Linked DNA regions of Homo sapiens: region 1 is linked to region 2. Evidence: promoter capture Hi-C in human tissues and cell types (Jung and others, 2019). All regions are on one chromosome and are shown on one strand. Each heading gives the region's core, a stretch centred on a gene start or on the middle of the fragment in contact. The rest is flanking DNA. Distances are from core to core; before and after follow the strand shown.

Region 1 (7,138 bases), core at 2,934-5,433, 460 kb after region 2:
CCCTGCCCCCTCCTGCAGCCCAGGTACAGCCTGGCCTGGGGCACTGGTGTTCCTGCAAACCTGGTTTAACCAGAACCTGGACACCTCACGGGCTTCCTGAGCTAGCAACAAGGTGATTGGGTCATGATCACCCACACCCCCTTCCTGCCCCTACTCCCAGGCAGGGCCCAGGGCCTACCTCTGTGCCCTCCCTCACCTCGGTGTGCCTCACGGCCTCCTCCAGCTCACAGATCTGGGTCTGTACCGTGTCCTGGTTTCCCAGGATGTATGTCAGGCTCTTTGTCAGCTTGTCCTGAGGGGGAAGAAAGAGGTGGGCATCAAGCCCAGCTCTGCAGAAGCCAGCAGTTGGGAGGAGGTGCAAGAGGGTAAGAGTGTGAGTTAGCACTAGGGTTGGATAAGGGGGGTCCTTACCTTGAGGGCCTGGTAGGCACTGAGCACTGGTGTGATCTTGTGCCCGCTGTGGGTGCGCCGCACCCGGCAGAGTTGACATACCAGGCGTTGGCATGTCTTGCAGTAGTGGGTCACCTCTTCCTTGTGGTCTGGGCACATAAGGCCCTAGGGACACAAAGAACAATGTGATGGTCAGACAATGGTGTGGGTAAGGGTGCTATGCTACCACTACAGCAGTTTGGTGCCCTCCTCCACTGGCAAGATGGGAGTGGAGACATCCGCTGGTGGTGCTCCACAGTGCCACCTGGTGGTACATACTGGCATCAAAGAGCCTTTCCTGCAGTCTCCGGGCGGTGCCCATTTCACCAGCATTGCACCTCCCTTCATCTCTCTCATTGGGATATATGGTAATAACAGTAATAATGATGCCAATTAATCTTTGCCTGGTAGTTAATAATTAACCTTGTCCATCTTGTTTACTGCTGTATCTCCAACACCTAGAATAGCACCATGCACATAGGTGCTCAATAAATATTTGTTCAGTGAGTGAATGCACACAGACCTTTTCAGTGTGCAGGTAACACTTTTTAGTGAACAAACATTATCTCACACCATCCTCTCAGCAACCCTTTAGGTATGGACATTGCAGGGCAGATACTACCATCCCCCTACAGGGATGTAAATGAGATGGAGGCCCAAAGTTGTTGAATGATTTGTCCAGTGACTTTGTGACAGATTACAGAGATAGGTGCTTAGCATTGGAAAACCCTTCCCACTTCCTTTTGGAAACCCACAATGCCAGGCACCCCCACCCACCTGCAGCAGCATGTCCCTCCCTCCCCAGGCCTTGGAAGGGCTGGCTCACCTTGGGTCGGAAGGAGAGGGTAGGCAGGGTGGGCTCATGCTGGGCCTTCTGGGTGCCCCAGGGGTGGAAGAGCTTGAAGCACTCATTGCAGAAGGTGGCGCGGCACTCTGTGCAGCCCTTGGTGGCCTCTAGTGGTGGGGGCTTGCACAACTGGCACAGGATGGCACCTCCCACACTCACACTCTGGCGGTACCGCTCCACCACACGCTCCAGGGTCAGGTTCCGGAAAAGCCCTGCCAGACCCCGCTCCCCAAGCTCCACATCACCTTGGCAGGCTGGGCACGGGAACATGATCACTTGGGGGTGCAAAGCACCTCGCTTCCTCCCAGGGTATGTCCCAAAGCCTGTGGGTGAACCAGGGAGGTAGAGGACATGAGAGTTACAGCTGGCTGGGTGTGGGGAAGCCTGTTTAATTAAATTAGATTTTCATTGTGCCAGAGCTCAGCTCTCATTAGAGCCTGCGTAAGCAGTATCTCCACCCCCCAGAAAGACAGACAGATGCCTCTGACCAGTGATGGACTTCTTCCATCTTCCTGATGAATAGCTCAGCGTTCCCATCCCCACCCTACAGGCCCCAGTCCCACCTGACTTAAGCAGCCGGTCCAGGCGGTCTGGCTTGGGGAGAGTTCTGCGGGAGAGGCGGGGGCTGCGGGTGGAAGGGGTGGAGGCAGGAGAGGTGGGCTCGGAGCTGGGGTCCCCACCATGTCCTATGTAGCCCTGCTGGCCCAAGACCTCTCGGGCACAGGCCTGGCACACGTTGTGGGTACAGGGCAGCACCAGTGGCTGCTTGTACATCTCTTGACACACTGGGCACAGCAGTTCCTTCTCCATGTTCTTCATGCTGGTCTGTGGAGGGACCAGGAGGCTAGGTCAGCGCTTGGACACTTAGGCATACCTCAGCAGCCCCTTGGCTGCCCTTGGATACCCTAGGGGTCTGAGGAAGGAGCAAGACAAGCTACCTGCAGCTTTTCCAGAGCACCTGCCTTGGGCTGGTTCACAGACCTTCCCAGACCTCTGTCCCTTGCTTCTCTTTCCCCGCTGCAGAGCTAAAGGCCCAGAGGAGGGACGGTTGGAGCTTGTGCCTGCTCCAGCCTCAAGCCCAATCCCCATTTCTCCAGCTGCAGTAGCCCCAGCTGGCAGCCCCCTCACCTGCCTCCATCCCCCATCTCTGGGCAGCTTGCCCCTGGCATTTTTCTCAAGGACACCGCCCATTCTGCAGCTCCATGCAGACCCCCACTCCCTTCTCTAGCAGCACCCCCATGCCGTGATTCCTCCCGATAGCCAGGCGAGGTTGGCACTCCATCCTGCTCGCTCCATACGTCCTCCTGCCGCAGCTCCGGCCTGCGGCCACTCCAGCCTCCATTCCCCATCCTTCACTTCCCCATCGGTCTTACCAACCCATTCCCCTTCGCCCCCATCAGGCCCTCCCGCCCTCTCCCGCAGCGCAACCCGGTCAGCGGCACCCCCTTCTCCGAACTAGCGGGGGAATCAAGAGCCCCGCCTACTCGCCCCCTCCCCACCGGAAGTCCCCTCCCCCTCTTGGTGGCGAGAGTGGGGGTCCTCAGGCTATGCCCCACCCCCACACCTCACCTTGGTCCCTCTCTTCGCAGCCATCCCGGTCAGGGGCGCAGCTGACACAAAGGAGGGAGGAACAAGGAGGGGGGGAGGAAGTGGTGGGGGGGAACACGGTTGGCACCGCCCCTGGGAGAGCCAGGCACGGGTTGCCATGACAACCGCAGGCTCGGAAGCAGCCCTGAGTGGGGGTGCGTGGGGTGGGGTCTTGGGGAGGGGTCCAAATTGGGAACTGCACTGTGGGGCGGCTCCTACATCATCCCCCACCTGTCCTCAGTTTTCTTGGAAAATATCCAAGCTCACACGTCCCTCTTCTCATAACAGGGCCTTTCCCCTGAAGCCCCAGCCCCGGTGCACTGCTGGAGGCCACCCCAGCCCACCCGCTGCGTCTGGGCTGCTCCTAGCTCCTCCTCACGCTCCAGCACACCGACGCCTTCACGGCACTCACCTCCGGGCTGCTCCCGGGATTACCCTCTCATACCTGCATCCCGACCCTCCCAGCCGTTTCTGCCATCGCTAGCCCCCTGTCTACATCCCAGCATCTTCCTGGATCCCCACCTGTTCCAGGTCCCAGCTTGCCCCAGAACCCTATACGCCCCCTCCCCTTCCCTCGACCCCACCTTAACTCACACTGATGCGGACCAGTGCGTCCATGATGGAAGTGAAGGTCTGCATATCCTCACCCTCTGCCATGGCCCTACCGTGCCCGCCCGCCCCTGGGTGCCCGATCCCGGCTGCGGCTGCGAACCCCGGGCTTAATGCAGGAGCCCAGTGGGGGTGTGAGGAGGGCTGGGGGTTGAGGTGTCACTGCGCATGCTCCCGGGACCAGCCTCGAACAGCGCCCGTCGGGGTAGGGGGTGGGAAATAGTTCTCCCCACGTGGTTCTCGAAAGCCGGTCGGGGGGTTGGGGAATATGGAAAGGTATTTGACGGGGGAGCCATTTCTTACATTCTCATTTTTCATTGGCTCCTAATTTTACTCATATAAAGCGGGGGATTAGTTTCGGAGGAAAATGAGTTCCTGGTTGGGAGCACTAAATTTTAGGTTGGGAGATGTTGAGGCATGGGGCAGGGAGGTTTGAGGAACGTGCACTAGAGATGAAAGAAATGGCAAAGAAGACAGAGATGGGATAGATGCCACAGGCATGGGCCCAATGACTTAAAGAGATAAGTGCACCTTGTACAGAGTGGCAGCAGACGCACCAGGTACGAGGAAAGCCTGAGGACCAGGGCGGTGGCCGAGGATGCCCCCTCGACGCATTATTTCCTCCCTGTCGCAAGAGGGCGCTGCGTCCAGGCACTGAGAGGAAGAAAGAGGAGAACGCGAGGAGTAGCAAGTCCGCGGTAAGCGCTGACGCATGCGCATAGCTAACCGCACCCGGTTCAGCTCGCCTTTCTTGGCCAGAGGCGCCGGTTGGACTCACGGGCGGGGCATGATGGGTAACAGGACCGGTGGGGTCCCCAGGAAGTCCTAGAGGGGGTCGGGGTTTGGGTGGACAAGCTTTCCTCGTCCTCTCCCGACAGAGCTGACGTGTCCTGGGTTCCACCGGGAGCGGGCATTTCCACCGGACGGGAGGGTTCGGGGTGTCCGGGGCTGGGGAATACGTAGGGGTTGCCGCGCGGTGTGGGGAGTTGGGGCGTGTGGCTGCAGTCCCGGGAGTTCTTGGAGGGGGTCGGCCCACCGAGCTTCCGGACCGGCTGATCTGCCCGTAGCTTGCCGGAGGGAGGGCGGAGCCTGACTCTCCGTCCCTTCTCCCATCCCCTCCAGTGGTGGGTACGGGCACCTCGCTGGCGCTCTCCTCCCTCCTGTCCCTGCTGCTCTTTGCTGGGATGCAGATGTACAGCCGTCAGCTGGCCTCCACCGAGTGGCTCACCATCCAGGGCGGCCTGCTTGGTTCGGGTCTCTTCGTGTTCTCGCTCACTGTATCCTCCCTGCAGTTGGAGGGGGCGGGCCACGTAGGCATGTGCCCTTCCCCTTCCCCACACAGCTCTGTCCCCGTTGCACACCCTACTCCTTAACTCCCTCAACCAGGCCTTCAATAATCTGGAGAATCTTGTCTTTGGCAAAGGATTCCAAGCAAAGATCTTCCCTGAGAGTAAGTGAATATTGGAGCTTGAGTATTTGAACTTTCTCCTCTTTAACCTCCTGAAACATGATATTGAATTTCCAGATGCTTAGGTGAAAGGTTGTTAAGGAGAAATATATTTACTGAAGCTGTCTGAAGACAGATGACGCTTTTCGATTCTGCACCTTGTATAGCTCCTGGAGTTGGAGCTGGAAGAGAAGGCCTTTGAAAGCAAGAAACTTTGGTACCTTCTGGCCAGCTCCCAGGGAAGGTTTGAGGGGAACAGGCAAATTTGGGCTGATGTTTTGCATCTATTCGCTGGGAGGCGGTCCTTGTTCCCACCAGAAGAAGCAGCAGGACCAAGTTCACTATGGAGTTCTGATGTGAAGTTAACTCAATATTAGAGAATTCTACTTATTTGAGGGAATTGTGAAGAGCCTAAATACTAGAGGCACCAAATATCTATGGCAGCAGGAATCCTGACCAAATCAGAATAACTGTTAGATTATTTCCTGTTTGGAATAATTCTTGTTCAATTGCTCATGTAATCAAGAATTGATGATTCAGTTATTTATGGAGAATTAAGTTTATAAAGCAAATTAAGTGTCAAGGCCAGATTACTTAAGGAATGCCACGTGCTCAGAAATTCACAGCAGATGCAATCTCATGTAAAACCCTCATGTGGTAAAACAAAGATCTATCATGGTTGCCCTTAATCTTTTCTCTTTTTTTTTTTTTTTTTTTTTTGAGACAAGGCTTTACTCTGTCGCCTAGGCTGGAGTGCAGGGATGTGATCACTGAAGCCTTGACCTGGTCTCAAGCAATCTTCCCTCCTCAGTCTTACCAGTAGCTGGGACTACCAGTGAGTGCCACCACACCCAGCTACTGTTTTAAGTTTTTGTAGAGATGGGGTTTCACCACATTGCCCAGGCTGGTCTCGAACTCCTGGGCTCAAGTGATCCTCCTATTTCAGCCTCCCAGAGTGCTGGAATTACAGGTGTGAGCCACTGTGCCTGGCTGCCCTCATTTCTTTGCCCCCCTCTAGGACTTGCTTTCTCCGCATAGCCCTTTTGCAGGCTTCAGAGTTCTTTCCATCCAGTAGCCCCGGGACTTCTCTCTGTTAGGTTTTGTTTCCATATGTATTACCTTCACTTGCTTCTTTTTTTTTTTTTTTTTGAGATGGAGTCTCGCTCTGTCACCCATGCTGGAGTACAGTGGTGTGAACCCAGCTCACTGGAGCCTCTGCCTCCCAGGTTCAAGCGATTCTCCTGCCTCAGCCTCCCGAGTAGCTGGGATTACATGCGTGCGCCACCATAACTGGCTAATTTTTGTATTTTTGGTAGAGATAGGATTTCACCATGTTGGTTAGGCTGGTCTTGAACTCCTGACCTTAAGTGATCCACCCGTCTTGGCCTCCCAGAGTGCTGGGATTACAGGGGTGAGCCACTGTGCCTGGCTTTTCAGTTGCTTCTGAAAGAAACCATTGGCTGGGTGGGATGGCACACGCCTGTAATCCTAGCACTTTGGGAGGTGTAGGCTGGCAGATAGCTTGGGCCCAGGAATTCAAGACCAGCTTGGGCAACATAGAGAGACCCTGTCTCTCCAAAAAAATACAAAAATTAGCCGGGCATGGTGGTACGCACCTATAGTCCCAGGTACTCGGGAAGCTGAGGTGGGATGATCGCTTGAGCCCAGGAGATCAAGGCTGCAGTGAGCTGAAACTGCACCACTGCACTCCAGCCTGGGCGACAGAGTGAGATTCTGCCTCAAAAATAAAAAAAAATAATAAAAAAAGAAAAGATGCCATTGTGGTGGGGCAAAGTTCTTGGCCCACTTTGCCTTCTCTGCCCTCTCCACCTGGGCAGGTGGGGCCCTGTTTGTCTTTGCTTTTGTCCTCTCACCTTCTCTCCCATCATATTCCAGGTAACCTAAAATCCTTTCCTGCCCCCATGAAGAAGTAGATCCAAGCACTCTGCCCTCCAACCTGTGTCCAGGGAGCAAGGCCTTCAACTTCCACCACTGGTCACCCAGCTTAATGAATTGACTCTCATTGTCTGGCTTCTTTTGGAAAGGGTTTAACTGGGTTCCCCAAATGGGAACACACCTTGCCCTTCAGACTCTGTTGTCCATCACCTTTCCTTTTTCCTTTTATGGGAGGAAAGCCAGGGTAGGGAAGTTATGTGAGATATGGGGCAGAGCTGGTAAAAAAAAGCATACATCTACATCCATGTTCTTTTTTTTTTTTT
Region 2 (7,679 bases), core at 538-3,037:
TACCTAAGCAAGGAACTTCGCCTCGTGGCTAAAGGATGGCCAGCCTGCCTCCAAGCAGTTGCAGCAGTGGCTTTGCTGGTGGCAGAAACCACTGGGTTAAACATGGGGAATAACTTAACTGTTTGCACCCCACACAGTATAGCAGGACTGCTGTCCTCTAAGGGAAGTCTCTGGCTAACAGAAAAATCGCCTCATCAAAAATCAAGCTTTGCTGCTAGAGGAATCTGCAGTCCAGTTGAAAACCTGCCCTTGCCTAAACCCAGCCACTTTCTCCCAGAGGAAATTGGGGAACCTGAACATGATTGTGAACAGGTAGTGGTACAAACCAGTAAAAGAAATGATAAGGATCACTGTTTATATTCTCTGTAAAGTTTTGATTAATGAAAAACAATTTTCATGAAGAGCACTTGGCTTAATTGAAACTGAGTATCCAACCTATAGGTATATTCAAGAGGCCTTTATGTTTTTCCCTCCATAAATCTTGTTTTTCTGGAAAAGGCTTTTTTTCTCTGGCAACTGAATTACTTTTTCCCACTCTGTCTTGCCATTCTTGGTGCATGGATGAAAGGCCCTAGGATGACTTCTGGTGGCCTGGGACTCCTTGGGAAAACAGACAAGATGCCAGAAATCCCATTTAGGAAAAAAATCTGTTTTCCACATGGAATCCCTGGAATCCCTTTTAAAATCTGTTTTTGTCTTCCAACTGTGCATGTTTATTAGGCTCCAAAAACTACATGCTTTTCTGGCCCTATTCCTAAATAGCTCCATCCTGAGCTGCTGGATCTTCTTCTATCTATATAGTCCTATATGGGTTATGTGTGTGATGTCTGTTAAAAAAGACCTCTAATTAATTGACTTGAAGGGTAAGTGCTTGGATTAAATATTTTTTAAAGGGATAATGAAGGTTGTGGTACCTTTCAGTTCATGTGACTTTAATTTTTGAAAAATAAAAACAGCCTTAAAAATTATTGGTAAAGTGTAGATGTCTTCAAGATGTAAATATATGGTCTAAATTATGCAGGTCAGATACTAGGTTTGCTGAATGTTTTAAGGTTGTAAACTTCTTCTTTGGCCTTTAAACTTGCCTGCTTCACAATTGGTAAGACCTGGGGACATATGGAAGTAACCATTCCCCTAACTATGCTGGAAGGAGTCAGACTTTATCTGCACCTAGCACATAATTAAAACAACTTTACCAGGTTTTACATTGAAGTTGAAAATTGCTAAGAGTTACTGTTATAACATGTAATTTAGACTACTGAAAATAGATTTACATGCAAGGTGTGCAAGAACAGTAAAGTATCTTTTTAGTCAAAGATTATAAGAAGGCATGGAAATGCACATTTTGCCTAGGGATACAGGATTGTCTTAAATTAGATAAAATAAAACAAAAAGTTTAAGCAAATGTGGAAAGACTGTAAAAATTAATCTTCCAAAAGGAAACTGTGAACATATTGACTAAATTCAAAAGGGTTTTTCTGAAAATGGAGCACTGAAATAAAAGCACATGGCCAGGCATGGTGGCTCACGCCTGTAATCCCAGCACTTTGGGAGGTCAAGGAGGGTGGATCACCTGAGGTTGGGAGTTCAAGAGCAGCCTGACCAACATGGAGAAACCCCATCTCTACTAAAAATACAAAAAATTAGCTGGGCGTCATTGCACATGCCTGTAATCCCAGCTACTTGGGAGGCTGAGGCAGGAGAATCGCTTTAACCCTGGAGGCAGAGGTTGTGGTCAGCCTAGATCACGCCATTGCACTCCAGCCTGGGCAGCAAGAGTGAAACTCCATCTCAAAAAAAAAAAAAAAAGAAAAAAAGAAAAGCACAACAAGGTTTTCTTAAGATGCTACTCCTCTTTAGCAAGATTTGTAAACGGTTATGAAAGGTTCATAAAAATCTCACCTCATGGTCAAACTGATTAAGATTGAATAGAATTGGGCAACCCTTGGCCGGGTGCAGTGGCTCATGCCTGTAATCCCAGCACTTTGGAAGGCCAAGGCGGGTGGATCACGAGGTCAGGAGATCGAGACCATCCTGGTTAACACAGTGAGACCCCATCTCTACTAAAAATACAAAAAATTAGCCGGGCGTGGTGGCAGGCGCCTGTAATCCCAGCTACTCGGGAGGCTGAGGCTGGAGAATGGCGTGAACCCAGGAGGCGCAGCTTGCAGTGAGCCGAGATTGCGCCACTGCACTCCAGCCTGGGCGACACAGCGAGACTCCATCTCAAAAAAAAAAAGGATTGGGCAACCCTTCTGGGTTCCCTTCCACCATATGGAAGCTTTACTTTCGCTTTCACTTTACTTTCACTTTTGCTTTAATAAATCTTGCCACCGCACACTCTTTGGGTCTGCATGTTTCTCTAATGGAGCTGTAACACTCACCACTGAGGTCCATGGCTTCTTTCCTTGAAGCCTGTGAAACCACGAACCCTTCAATCAAGAAAAGACCTTTGATCAGGAGAAGACTTCTCGTCTCATTTCTGGGGACACATTCAGGATTTCTCCAAAGCAGTGAGTAACATTGAACCCCTCTTGCTTGCTATTCTGTTCTATCTTCTCATTAGAAATTGGAAGAAAACACCAGGCACCTGTCAGCCATTTAAATGTGACAAGCGGCCGGGTGCAGTGGCTCACACCTGTAACTGCAGCACTTTGGGAGGCCAAGGCGGGTGGATCACGAGGTCAGGAGATTGAGATCATCCTGGCTAACACAGTGAAACCCCACCTCTACTAAAAATACAAAAAATATTAGCCAGGCATGGTGGTGGGCACCTGTAGTCCCAGGTACTCGGGAAGCTGAGGCAGGAGATTGGCGGGAACCCAGGAGGCAGAGCTTGCAGTGAGCTGAGATTGCACCACTGCACTCCAGCCTGGGCAACAGAGCAAGACTCCATCTCAAAAAAAAAAAAAAAAGTGACAAGCGCAGCCGCCAGGCTTAAGACACAGGTGTGAGGCTCTCTGGGAAAGGGCTCTCTAACAACCCCCGGCCCTCTGGGCTGGGAGTGTTGGTTTGCCTGGAACCAGGTCCACCTTTCTCTACCTTTCCTGGGAAAAGCTGAGGGCTGGCTAGAGGCGGAAAACTGTCGTCCTGAACTCCCAGCACTGACCCAGTTGAGATCATGGCACAGCGAGAAGCCTCTACACTGCAGCTGCCCATGCGTGCATTTCATGTCTTTTCTGACCCATGCCTCCTGGGTCCTAACGTCCTCAGAGAAGACTTTCTTGAGGTCCTATCCTCTAGGATCTTTCCTAGATCAAGTCTAAGAATCTTTTGGCTAGGAGCCTAAGTCAAGTGGGGAGGTAATCCAAAGACCTTTGCCCATGGTGTCCCCAGGCTTATTCTTATGCAAATGGGTATCAGTATACTTACACGGGACCTGTCCCTCATAACCTGTACCCTAGGTACTATCTGGAACATCAAAAGGCATGTCAGTGGCTGATAGAAGGCCTAAGACATTTTTCCTTTTGTTGCCCTAAACTTACTCCAGATTGTAGAGACTCCTTTAATTACCACCTTTCCTGTCTGGAATCAGCGATTAGAACTGTAGAACTTCTCCACTTGAAGTGGTCATACTTATGGGCCAAAAACAATATAATAGACAATAGGTCCCCTGATTCAAGTCCAAAGGTCAATGAATATTCTTAGGAGGGCAAATAGGGGACAGAAGATTCAGGTATGAAAAGCACAGTTCCAACTTTGGTCCTCCAATTTGCCGCTGCCTTCCCTAAAACTGTTGTGCTATAGTGCCATTTTCAAGGAATTTATCTTGCTGGGACAGCTCCAAGCCCAGAAATATGCTAACTGGTGCCTGGTCTCTAAACTCAAAATACACCCCAAACCTAAGACCCACTTGCAGATGCAAAGGCAATTGTGGGCATGCTGTTAAGGAGCCACTAAAATCCAGCAGCCCAGGACCTCTTTCTTTGTGGCTAAAAAAGGACAGGAAACAAATTCAGGCAAAACTGCTATGTCGGTAAGCACAATTAAATTCATTAAGCAGGGTTCCATGGGTGATTGAGCACCCTGGAAAGTAAAGGACACTAGAACCATAGGGGATGTGTGGGGAAAAGCAAGAGAGATCAGATTGTTACTGTGTCTGTGTAGAAAGAAGTAGACATGGGAGACTCCATTTTGTTATGTGCTAAGAAAAATTCTTCTGCCTTGAGATTCTGTTAATCTATGACCTTACCCCCAACCCCGTGCTCTCTGAAACGTGTGCTGTGTCAACTCAGGGTTGAATGGATTAAGGGCGGTGCAGGATGTGCTTTGTTAAACAGATGCTTGAAGGCAGCATGCTCCTTAAGAGTCATCACCACTCCCTAATCTCAAGTACCCAGGGACACAAAAACTGCGGAAGGCCGCAGGGACCTCTGCCTAGGAAAGCCAGGTATTGTCCAAGGTTTCTCCCCATGTGATAGTCTGAAATATGGCCTCGTGGGAAGGGAAAGACCTGACTGTCCCCCAGCCCGACACCCGTAAAGGGTCTGTGCTGAGGAGGATTAGTATAAGAGGAAGGAATGCCTCTTGCAGTTGAGACAAGAGGAAGGCATCTGTCTCCTGCCTGTCCCTGGGCAATGGAATGTCTCGGTATAAAACCCGATTGTATGCTCCATCTACTGAGATAGGGAAAAACCGCCTTAGGGCTGGAGGTGGGACCTGCGGGCAGCAATACTGCTTTGTAAAGCACTGAGATGTTTATGTGTATGCATATCCAAAAGCACAGCACTTAATCCTTTACATTGTCTATGATGCCAAGACCTTTGTTCACGTGTTTGTCTGCTGACCCTCTCCCCACAATTGTCTTGTGACCCTGACACATCCCCCTCTTTGAGAAACACCCACAGATGATCAATAAATACTAAGGGAACTCAGAGGCTGGCGGGATCCTCCATATGCTGAACGCTGGTTCCCCGGGTCCCCTTATTTCTTTCTCTATACTTTGTCTCTGTGTCTTTTTCTTTTCCAAATCTCTCGTCCCACCTTACGAGAAACACCCACAGGTGTGTAGGGGCAACCCACCCCTACATCTGGTGCCCAACGTGGAGGCTTTTCTCTAGGGTGAAGGTACGCTCGAGCGTGGTCATTGAGGACAAGTCGACGAGAGATCCCGAGTACATCTACAGTCAGCCTTACGGTAAGCTTGTGCGCTCGGAAGAAGCTAGGGTGATAATGGGGCAAACTAAAAGTAAAATTAAAAGTAAATATGCCTCTTATCTCAGCTTTATTAAAATTCTTTTAAAAAGAGGGGGAGTTAAAGTATCTACAAAAAATCTAATCAAGCTATTTCAAATAATAGAACAATTTTGCCCATGGTTTCCAGAACAAGGAACTTTAGATCTAAAAGATTGGAAAAGAATTGGTAAGGAACTAAAACAAGCAGGTAGGAAGGGTAATATCATTCCACTTACAGTATGGAATGATTGGGCCATTATTAAAGCAGCTTTAGAACCATTTCAAACAGAAAAAGATAGCGTTTCAGTTTCTGATGCCCTTGGAAGCTGTATAATAGATTGTAATGAAAACACAAGGAAAAAATCCCAGAAAGAAACGGAAGGTTTACATTGCGAATATGTAGCAGAGCCGGTAATGGCTCAGTCAACGCAAAATGTTGACTATAATCAATTACAGGAGGTGATATATCCTGAAACGTTAAAATTAGAAGGAAAAGGTCCAGAATTAGTGGGGCCATCAGAGTCTAAACCATGAGGCACAAGTCATCTTCCAGCAGGTCAGGTGCCCGTAACATTACAACCTCAAAAGCAGGTTAAAGAAAATAAGACCCAACCGCCAGTAGCCTATCAATACTGGCCTCCGGCTGAACTTCAGTATCGGCCACCCCCAGAAAGTCAGTATGGATATCCAGGAATGCCCCCAGCACCACAGGGCAGGGCGCCATACCCTCAGCCGCCCACTAGGAGACTTAATCCTACGGCACCACCTAGTAGACAGGGTAGTGAATTACATGAAATTATTGATAAATCAAGAAAGGAAGGAGATACTGAGGCATGGCAATTCCCAGTAACGTTAGAACCGATGCCACCTGGAGAAGGAGCCCAAGAGGGAGAGCCTCCCACAGTTGAGGCCAGATACAAGTCTTTTTCGATAAAAATGCTAAAAGATATGAAAGAGGGAGTAAAACAGTATGGACCCAACTCCCCTTATATGAGGACATTATTAGATTCCATTGCTCATGGACATAGACTCATTCCTTATGATTGGGAGATTCTGGCAAAATCGTCTCTCTCACCCTCTCAATTTTTACAATTTAAGACTTGGTGGATTGATGGGGTACAAGAACAGGTCCGAAGAAATAGGGCTGCCAATCCTCCAGTTAACATAGATGCAGATCAACTATTAGGAATAGGTCAAAATTGGAGTACTATTAGTCAACAAGCATTAATGCAAAATGAGGCCATTGAGCAAGTTAGAGCTATCTGCCTTAGAGCCTGGGAAAAAATCCAAGACCCAGGAAGTACCTGCCCCTCATTTAATACAGTAAGACAAGGTTCAAAAGAGCCCTATCCTGATTTTGTGGCAAGGCTCCAAGATGTTGCTCAAAAGTCAATTGCCGATGAAAAAGCCCGTAAGGTCATAGTGGAGTTGATGGCATATGAAAACGCCAATCCTGAGTGTCAATCAGCCATTAAGCCATTAAAAGGAAAGGTTCCTGCAGGATCAGATGTAATCTCAGAATATGTAAAAGCCTGTGATGGAATCGGAGGAGCTATGCATAAAGCTATGCTTATGGCTCAAGCAATAACAGGAGTTGTTTTAGGAGGACAAGTTAGAACATTTGGAGGAAAATGTTATAATTGTGGTCAAATTGGTCACTTAAAAAAGAATTGTCCAGTCTTAAATAAACAGAATATAACTATTCAAGCAACTACAACAGGTAGAGAGCCACCTGACTTATGTCCAAGATGTAAAAAAGGAAAACATTGGGCTAGTCAATGTCGTTCTAAATTTGATAAAAATGGGCAACCATTGTCGGGAAATGAGCAAAGGGGCCAGCCTCAGGCCCCACAACAAACTGGGGCATTCCCAATTCAGCCATTTGTTCCTCAGGGTTTTCAGGAACAACAACCCCCACTGTCCCAAGTGTTTCAGGGAATAAGCCAGTTACCACAATACAACAATTGTCCCCCGCCACAAGCGGCAGTGCAGCAGTAGATTTATATACTATACAAGCAGTCTCTCTGCTTCCAGGGGAGCCCCCACAAAAAATCCCTACAGGGGTATATGGCCCACTGCCTGAGGGGACTGTAGGACTAATCTTGGGAAGATCAAGTCTAAATCTAAAAGGAGTTCAAATTCATACTAGTGTGGTTGATTCAGACTATAAAGGCGAAATTCAGTTGGTTATTAGCTCTTCAATTCCTTGGAGTGCCAGTCCAGGAGACAGGATTGCTCAATTATTACTCCTGCCATATATTAAGGGTGGAAATAGTGAAATAAAAAGAATAGGAGGGCTTGGAAGCACTGATCCAACAGGAAAGGCTGCATATTGGGCAAGTCAGGTCTCAGAGAACAGACCTGTGTGTAAGGCCATTATTCAAGGAAAACAGTTTGAAGGGTTGGTAGACACTGGAGCAGATGTCTCTATCATTGCTTTAAATCAGTGGCCAAAAAATTGGCCTAAACAAAAGGCTGTTACAGGACTTGTCGGCATAGGCACA

Evidence for each region. The method cuts DNA at HindIII sites, captures the fragments that hold promoters and counts their contacts. A contact is called where the count stands out against the background at its distance.
Region 1: a contact is called between the fragment with the promoter of KRTCAP2 here and a fragment that was not itself captured in region 2, in 1 of the 25 tissues and cell types used here (lymphoblastoid cells).

What each region holds. Positions count from the first base shown.
Region 1 is chr1:155,170,349-155,177,486 of GRCh38, reverse strand. It overlaps KRTCAP2 (keratinocyte associated protein 2), which reads left to right and starts at 4,183. Exons shown (of 5, transcript NM_173852.4): 1 at 4,183-4,266; 2 at 4,595-4,749; 3 at 4,859-4,922. The coding sequence starts at 4,263. TRIM46 (tripartite motif containing 46) reads right to left here and starts at 3,638. Exons shown (of 10, transcript NM_025058.5): 1 at 3,458-3,638; 2 at 1,840-2,101; 3 at 1,256-1,599; 4 at 412-555; 5 at 197-292. The coding sequence starts at 3,520. RefSeq lists silencers at 3,100-3,394, 3,564-3,653 and enhancers at 3,403-3,911, 3,984-4,033, 4,234-4,333, 3,912-4,420, 4,524-4,803. The HindIII fragment of the contact is 7,811 bases long and covers 1-7,138 here.
Region 2 is chr1:155,632,228-155,639,906 of GRCh38, reverse strand. It overlaps the pseudogene LOC100419798. Among named protein-coding and RNA genes, the nearest start is that of MSTO1, 26 kb to the right of the region's middle. RefSeq lists enhancers at 2,467-3,226, 3,227-3,987, 3,988-4,747. The HindIII fragment of the contact is 3,850 bases long and covers 1-3,712 here.